Linked DNA regions of Homo sapiens: all the other regions are linked to region 3. The links are contacts of gene promoters, found by promoter capture Hi-C in human tissues and cell types (Jung and others, 2019). All regions are on one chromosome and are shown on one strand. The core of a region is centred on a gene start or on the middle of the fragment in contact, and the rest is flanking DNA. Distances in the headings are between cores, read along the strand shown.

The links. Contacts are between HindIII fragments. The study calls those that stand out against the background at their distance.
Region 1: a fragment that was not itself captured here is called in contact with the fragment with the promoter of OAZ2 in region 3 in 2 of the 25 tissues and cell types used here (hippocampus and spleen).
Region 2: a contact is called between a fragment that was not itself captured here and the fragment with the promoter of OAZ2 in region 3, in 1 of the 25 tissues and cell types used here (spleen).

Annotation. Positions count from the first base shown.
Region 1 is chr15:64,925,941-64,928,684 of GRCh38, forward strand. It overlaps ANKDD1A (ankyrin repeat and death domain containing 1A), which reads left to right. Exons shown (of 15, transcript NM_182703.6): 5 at 126-230; 6 at 961-1,059. Among named protein-coding and RNA genes, the nearest start is that of ANKDD1A, 15 kb to the left of the region's middle. The HindIII fragment of the contact is 6,466 bases long and covers 1-2,744 here.
Region 2 is chr15:64,503,341-64,506,084 of GRCh38, forward strand. All of the region lies in intron 2 of ZNF609 (zinc finger protein 609), which reads left to right. Among named protein-coding and RNA genes, the nearest start is that of ZNF609, 44 kb to the left of the region's middle. The HindIII fragment of the contact is 8,439 bases long and covers 1-2,744 here.
Region 3 is chr15:64,702,006-64,704,860 of GRCh38, forward strand. It overlaps OAZ2 (ornithine decarboxylase antizyme 2), which reads right to left and starts at 1,276. Exons shown (of 5, transcript NM_002537.3): 1 at 1,024-1,276. The coding sequence starts at 1,043. LOC124903507 (a long non-coding RNA gene) reads left to right here and starts at 2,538. Exons shown (of 3, transcript XR_007064679.1): 1 at 2,538-2,627. RefSeq lists silencers at 862-1,081, 1,092-1,411. The HindIII fragment of the contact is 8,869 bases long and covers 1-2,855 here.

The DNA of each region.
Region 1 (2,744 bases), core at 23-2,522, 220 kb after region 3:
TACAGTGTTGTATCCATGGGGAGGCTGTGTTCTGGGTCCCAAACACTCGCTGTTTGGGAGACTGGCAGTGTGTGAAAAGGGCCTCCCTTCACAGACTGCAGGAACCCTCCTGCACTTGTTTCCAGGATGGCCTGACCTTACTGCACTGCGCAGCCCAAAAAGGCCATGTGCCTGTGCTGGCGTTCATAATGGAGGACCTGGAGGATGTGGCCCTGGACCACGTAGACAAGGTGAGAGTGCCTCAGGGCTACTCATCATTCCCATTGGGCGGGGGGCTCCTGGGGCCACTCTTGCACACTGGGCTTACCACATTCCTTGGGTGCATCCTTTGATCTGTGGGCATATTGCACCTGGCCTGGGGAGCCGCTGGTTGGGAAGAGGTGTTGAGGCGCAAATGAGCAGAATACAAGCAGAACACAGTCAGTTGCCACAGAGAGGTCTTGATCAAGGACTAGGTGGGTTAGAAAAGCAAGCCATTGCTTCTGCTTCCTGGAGGAGGTGGCATTTGGTAAATAAACTGGATTTGTGGGTAAGATTGGAAATCAGGGGTTGGAGAGGGCACCAAATGGAAGAGCGAGGCTTGTGGGAGCTTTAGGGACAGGAAAGGGCTCTAGTGTGAGTTCTGAGGGACTGGAATCTTAGGAGGGAAGGTCTGATGGGTGGTTGGGGGTCCCTCTGGCGATCTCAACCCCCATCCTCAAGAATCTGTTTATTCATTAGGCAGCAAGGAGCCACCTCAGGACTTCAGCCAGGGAGGGACCCCAGCAAGTGTCTCTTGTTGGGAAGTTGGGTCTGGGCTTTCCAGGCAGGGTGTGGGGAGGCAAGGGGAGAGGACAGTGTCTGGGGCAGGAGAGGCCACTACAAAGCCAGAGTGGTTGGGGAACAGAGGCCAGGTGGGCAGAGGCAGGTATGCCCACTGACAGAGTGAGGAAGGCTCACACCGCTTCTCCTCCCGGCCAGCTGGGGAGGACGGCGTTTCACAGGGCAGCTGAGCACGGGCAGCTGGATGCTCTGGACTTCCTCGTGGGCTCTGGCTGTGACCACAATGTCAAAGACAAGGTACCGTGTCCGTGAGGCTCTGGGATCCTGACCAGGGTGCAAAACTTGCCACCTTCCAGGCTCTGGCTCCTCACCTGTGTCCACGTCTGACTCCGATTGCGCTGGAGGCCCGTGTGGCCCAAAGATGAGAGTGTATTTAGTGTTCATCCAGCAGGCCCTTCACCAGCGTGTGCTATGGGCCAGCCCTGTGCTACAGGTTGGTGGCATAAAGATGCCCAAGACACCGTTTCTTACTCGAGGAACTCAGTGCCACAGGCATAGTAAGGATTTCTGATCCGACGTGGCTGGCCAGGGTGGCAGATCTGGGTGGTTGGTAGTGCTGCCTGGAGTGGGTTGAGCAGGGCTGTGATCTACTGGGGTTGTCTGTTGTTGACAGATGTGGGGAAGTGTTAGGGGGTGGTAGCCACACATCTGCTCTGCTATGGTTATGGCAGGAATAGGTTGGGAGCATGGAGAAGGTAGCATATCATTCAGGGCTTGTGAGCAGGATTTCACCAATCTGAGAAGGGGTAAGGGACGGGGACCAGAGGGTCTACCCTGCAAATGACTCTTATCATTGGACCCTTGTGAATCATTAGGCAAAATATGTTACAGCAAATTCCCTTTTTTTTTTTTTTTTTTTTGAGACGGAGTCTCGCTCTGTCGTCCAGGCTGGAGTGCAGTGGCGCTGTCTTGGCTCACTGCAAGCTCCGCCTCCCGGGTTCACACCATTCTCCTGCCTCAGCCTCCCGAATAGCTGGGACTGTAGGCGCCCGCCACCACACCCAGCTAATTTTTTTTGTATTTTTAGTAGAGATGGGGTTTCACGTGTTAGCCAGGATGATCTTGATCTCCTGACCTCGTGATCCACCCGCCTCAGCCTCCCAAAGTGCTGGGATTACACGCGTAAGCCATCGCGCCCGGCCTGTTACAGCAAATTCTAAATGATGCCTCCAACAAAGAGATTAACTCCATTATTAATCTTCTGGTTAATGTGCTTGGCCAGGATAGAGGGAGTTCTGTGTAAAATGAAGTGATAGAGAGCTCACACACAAATGCACTGCAGGGTCTTGGAACTGGAAGGCATCTGAATTCAGCCTTCTCATTTTACAGCTGTGGAAACTGATGCCCAGAGAGGGACATGCCTTAGCCAGGGCCACACAGTGAGACACAGGTAGAGCTGGATTTGGAAGCAGCATCCTAATGCATAAAGCTGTCTTTCTCCCCTTACCAGGCTGCCTCCTGGGTTGGACCCCCTTGGGTTCTGCACTGAGTCCATCCACACTCATCCTTTTGGGCTGAGCAGGTCCTACCCTGTGCAAGGCACTGGGCCAGGAACTAGGCATGCAAAGAGCGGGGAGGGCAGTGCCTGCCAGGACTGGCAAACCCAAGAGGCAAAATGATCACACCTCAGGGCCCCAGGAGAGCATGAGCACCAAGAACAGTGAAAGATAAAATACAGCTTTGATGAACTTCTCCAGAATCTTGCAATCAGAAATTCTGCAAAGAAGCTTTTAAAATTGCATACCCCTGTTAAGTTTTGTGTTTTCACAATGGGAGTGTTTTCATTTTCAGTTTCATCTGGGAGTGGGGCACGGTAAGTTTTTCAATGCCTGATAAGGGGGATAGACCTCTTAGAGTCAATGACAACACAGGTCACTCCACGTGTACTCTAGAATGCTAGGGAGGCTTTGAGAGTCCAGAGA
Region 2 (2,744 bases), core at 78-2,577, 200 kb before region 3:
GGGAGGGAATGTTGAGGAATAAACAAGACAGAGCCTTCCAGCTCTTGCCTGTTCCCTTGCCTTTAGTTTGATTGATGGATTGTTAAGTTAGGGATGGAAGGGGAGGTAGGGAGGAGGGCAGGCGCCTGTCTGAGTGTCCTGAGCTTAGTGCTTATGTCGCCACTCTGACAGGCAAGAAAAAAGGAATTTACAAACCACAGATGGCAACGATCTATCTGTGCTGACTTTGTCAGGGCTTACGACCAGGAGTTTAAGGTGAGACTCCTTCTTTTCCCCCAAATCATATAAAATAGCCAAGTAGGCTCTAGTAGTTAAAGAAAGGATCTAGAAGTTTCTAACCAGAAGCTCCCCCTCACATGTCTTTAGCTGCTGCTTTTGATCTTGCAAGGTAGGAACACTGCACTTTGCTTTTCCCGTGTTTGAATGTCAGCTTCTGCTGCTTTCAGAATGCTGCATATATTTACCACTTCCCCCATTAGTTTAGGATACAAAGAAAACCATAAAGTGTGCTCTTTGCTCTTTCAACTTCTGATCATGCATGCTATCATATCCTGTGTTCTTAAGAGCATCTTCCTTTGCCATTGGTTTTGTATTCCTGCCCTAATTTGTGCCTTCTAGCTTAGTTCTCTTGTATTGTAGTCCCTCATTGCCTAACCAAGGTCAGGTCTCTTTTATTCCTTCTGATCCAAGGCTTTCTTAACGCCTTCTTCCACTAGCTGTTATTTCTCAGCTATTGATGGCAGAGCAGTCAGCTTTGCTTCCTGAAACCAAATGCCCTCAAGATTTTCCTTCATGGAAAACATTAAAAAGAAGTTGATATTTATGTGGGACAGAGTTGCATTCTGTAACTACAAGCTTAATTTATTTTTTCATTCAGAAACTCTGTTTTCCTTCTAGGTGTTGTAATTCAAGGCAGTTCCAGAGAAAGATTATCTTGTCCAATTTCCTCATTTTATAGAAGAAACTAAGACCAGTGAAGTCCTGTGACTTGCCCAGCATCTCACAGGTAGTCACTGGCAAAGCCAGATTTGTAGACACCAAATTCTTATGGCATGTTGTTACTCTGGGATTCTTAACAAATCTTTAACTGTCAGGAAGGATTCTCAATTTTCCCACTTTATTTGTTATTTTCTTAGTATTATTATTTTCGAGATGGAGACTCACTCTGTCACCCAGGCTGGAGTGCAGTGGCACGATCTCGGCTCATTGCAGCCTCTGCCTCTGATTCAAGCGATTCTCCTGCCTTAGCTCCCCGAGTAGCTGGGATTACAAGTGCATACCACCATGCCTGGCTAGTTTTTTTTTTTTTTTTTTAATTTTAGTAGGGATAGGGGTTCACCATGTTGGCCAGGCTGGTCTCAAATTCCTGACTTCAAGTGATCCACCTGCTTCGGCCTCCCAGAGTGCTGAGATTACAGGCATGAGCCACCACACCCAGCCTATTTGCTTATTTTTAAGGCAGGGTCTCGCTATGTTGCCAATGCTGATCTTGAACTCCTGGGCTTATGCACTTCTGCCTTGGCCTCACTTATGCACTTCTGCCTTGGTCTCACTTATGCACTTCTGCCTTGGCCTCGCAAGTAGCTGGGACTACAAGTGTGTGCCACCACACCCAGCCATTTTTTCAATGTAAAGACTACCTTGAAACATTAGATGAAAATGCTTACATACTCCAAAATTGCTTTTACCCCAAAACTGCTTTCACTTGTTTTTCACAGTGACTTTAACATTGTAGACACTCAATAAACAAAGGATCTTTGAGTTTAGGATTTTAGGTAAGGTAATGAATGATGTTTGCAAAGAATAACCATTACAGCTGGCACTGAACCTATCCTGTTATTTATAAAGAAGGAAAGTTACTTTAAAACTGCTACTTTGAGCTTGACTACTTATGATATATGTGTGTGTGTTCTGGAATATTTCATCCAGCCAAATTTTCATTATAATAATTGAGGAATAGTTCTTTCTTTACTTGGCAATTGCAGGTAAGAAAAAAAACCCTGTTCTAGTGCTTCTTCCTTGGACACATCACTAATAGGCAGACCTTCAAATGTATTGTGGATATTACTAAGTATTTTGTAGAGAAGATATACTGTTGGCTAATTGTTATCACTTTTCATTCAGTCAGTACATTAATTGAATGCATTTTAGATACTAGGTTTTCTACTTGGTATTGGGTATACACTGGTAAATAAAACAGAGATGGTCTCTGCTTTTTGAGGAGCTTACAGTTTACCGTCTACAGCAGAGTTCCTAAAAGTGTGTCCCATAAAACCATGTACATCACCAGAGTATCAAAAATGCACATTCTTGGACCCTACCCTAGATATGCCGAATAAGTTTTTGGGGTAAGGGCCCAGAAATCTGTACTTCCAGAAGTCTCTCCAGATAATTGCTATATACATCAAAGTTTGAGAATTTTCCTTTCAAGGTAAGTATTCGGGGCCACTTCTCATTTAAAACACCAGCCTTCTAAACTTGAATTTCACATCAACTCTTATGTATAATTTAGTGGCTAAAAGCGTAAACTCTAGCCAGGCCTCCTGGCTTGAGCCTGGGAGGTTGAGGCTGCAGTAGTGAGCTGTGATCGCACTAGTGCACTCCAGCCTGGGCAACAGAGTGAGACTCCGTCTCAAAAAAATAATAATAATAAATTTTTTAAAAAGTGTGAACTCTGGAGCCAGACTACCTGGCTTTGTTTCCTACCTTTGCACTTATTTACTGAGTGATCTTGACCAAGTTTC
Region 3 (2,855 bases), core at 26-2,525:
GGGTGCTCGGTCTGAGAAAGATGTGCAGCCTTTCTCTAATTAATGGGGGAAGACTAGGGTCGGGTTTTGAGGGAGGAAATTGCAAAGATCTAGTGTCCAGAATATAGAGCTTGGTTTGAAGGCACTGGAGGTACAGGGGGAAGGTTCACTGGAAGCGAGATGGCTGGGTCCTGTGATCTAATGATCCAAAGACGGGATTCAGTTAAGAGGGGAAGGAGAAGGATGAGTTCCAGCTGAGAAAAGATGTTTAGAGGGTAAGAATGTTTCCAAGAGTGTTGGGGGTATACCATTGGGGCAACAGGATGGAGCACAAGAATCAAACCTGGTGTTTGATAAATAAAAGGAATGGCGCTGGGAGACTGGGAAAATGGGGCCTAACTGGGAGAGGGGTGTGGAGAGGGGAAGGTGGGGGAAAGATGAAGCTGAAGTATGGGACCAGGAGGAAGAGGCTGGACATCTGTGTAAGGACTGCTAGGCCTGAAGAGAATGGGGGGAGGGTGATGAGTGGGGGTAAACTGAGAACTGAAGGATGGAGGTTGACTTTGCGGGGGGCAGTGATATGAGAAGAGTCTGGGTGGGGGGTGCAGTTTTCATCAGGGAGGGAATTCAAAGGGAAGGGTGAAGTGACTTATAAGGGGAGTAAGAAAGATTTGAGGAAGACAGGAAACAATTTGGGGAATCTGGATGCCGGGGAAAGCCCAGTTTGGGGAATGGGGCACAATTCGGTGGGGCTGAAAGAAAAAAGGGGACTTGCTTGGAAGGTTGGGTTCCGGCTTTTGGGGGCTTTAGGGGAGGAGAAGGCCCGGATGAGGGGGATGGGCCCGGCTGAAGAGGGGGCTAAAGGACAGAAGAAGGCCCAGTTGCAGGGCTGAGGACCGGACTAGGGTGGCTGAAGTGGTGAACGGACCTGGCTGGGGGCGGATGGCCCCGCTGCGGGGGGCGGGGGCCGGCTAGGGGTACGTGAGAGGCCCTCTGGAGCAGATGAGGGAGGATGGGGGCGGGGAGCCTGGGCCGGGCCGTTACCTGTCCTGGGTGTTTATCATCCTCGGCGGCTCTGCTCAGGGTGGGAGGAGGCGGCGCAGGGAGTGGATAGATGGATGAGTGGGTGGGTGTGGGGTCACGCGCGCGGGGTCGATCTCTGCGGGCTAAGTCCCTGTCAGGCCGCGGGCCGAGCGCCTCCTTTTGCCTCAGCGAGCGCCTGCCTCCAACTGACCCTCCCCGGCCGCCACCGCCGCCGCCGCCGCCGCCGCCCCGCCCCCGAGTGCCTCATCTGCATAGCCCCACCCCAGCGCCGCGCGGTGTCCTGGGAAACTGGGGCCCACAACAAAGGGCAAAGCACCGCCCCGCCTCCGCGCAGGCGCACCACGGACCGATCGTGGGGGTAGGGCTAGGGGGTCCGAACGAAGGGCAGGCTGTGCAGGAGGCCATGACCAAGGCGGTGGGTCTGCCCGCAGCTGCGGCAGCGCGGCCCAGAAGATGCGTTGTGTTTCCGGTAGTTTTCTGTGAGGATTGACTCAACCTGGTCCTCATCCCTATTCCTTGTTGGCGTGGGGCCGAACAGGGCTGTGCCATTTGGGAGGATATTAAAACAAAATCAGAAATCTTAAGAGAACTACACACATATTAGCACCATTCCTAGTCTGAGTCCAGGCCCACAGATCTGTTATCTCAGCTCATAATGCAGATCAATAACCTCAGCTGTCAGGGTAGATCAACAATCTCAGCATCTCGCACACATCTCATGTCAATCGTCAAGGCTGCTCCAAGCACTGGCTTAGGTCATCTGAAGCCAGAACTCTGTAGATCATGAGCACAGTCACAACAAGACAGTCGTGGAAAGCGTCGTCACTAACTTGTTCACGGTCACTTCAGATCACAATCAGTGCAAGTTACTTCAATCGATCATGCAAGGTTACTAGTTCAGTCACCTCCATTCATTATCCCTACTGGTCCTTATGACAGATTAGTGCCTGAAGGCCACAGTCACCGGTGCGCAGACCCCTCAGATCACAGTCCTTGTAGGTTACAATCACAGACACTTCAACACAATCATCAAAAGCCCCGACTCTGTTCACAGTCAACCCAGATTGCAATCAAGAGAGGTCACATTATCTCAGATCACAGTGGGTCACTCTGTCACCTCAGATTACATCCATTCAGTTATTCAACAAATAATTATTTTATTTATTTACTTATTTTTGAGATGGAGTCTCTCTCTGTGGCCCAGGCTGGAGTGCAGTGGCACAATCTCAGCTCACTGCAACCTCCACCTCCCGGGTTCAAGCGATTCTCCTGCCTCAGCCTCCTGAGTAGCTGGGATTACAGACATGTACCACCATGCCCGGCTAATTTTTGTATTTTTAGTAGAGACGAGGTTTCACCATGTTGCCCAAGCTGGTCTTGAACTCCTGACTTCAGGTGATCCACCTGCCTCGGCCTCCAAAAGTACTGGGATTACAGGCATGAGCCACCGCACCCGGCCAACAAATAATTATTGAATAGCTACTTACTGTATGCTCCAGGCATGTGCTAGAGTCCAAGAATACGCCATAATCAACCAGGCAAGGTTCCTGCCTTGGATGTCACAATCCGGTCAAGGGGAGAGACACAGGTCATCACAATACCAGGTAAGTAAGTGCTCAATCTGAGGAATGCCACAGAGAAAGTAATTTAGGGAATTAGGGACAGCTTTGCAGAAAGAGTGATAACTCAGAGAAAGGGTGACACTCCAGATCGGCGGTCACTATGACTTTCAGTTCACAAACATCTCACATTGGAGTCATCTCAGGATATGGTTACTCTCCTTCACAAACAGCATGCTTTTGGGTTTTGGATGATGGGGATGGAGGCACAGA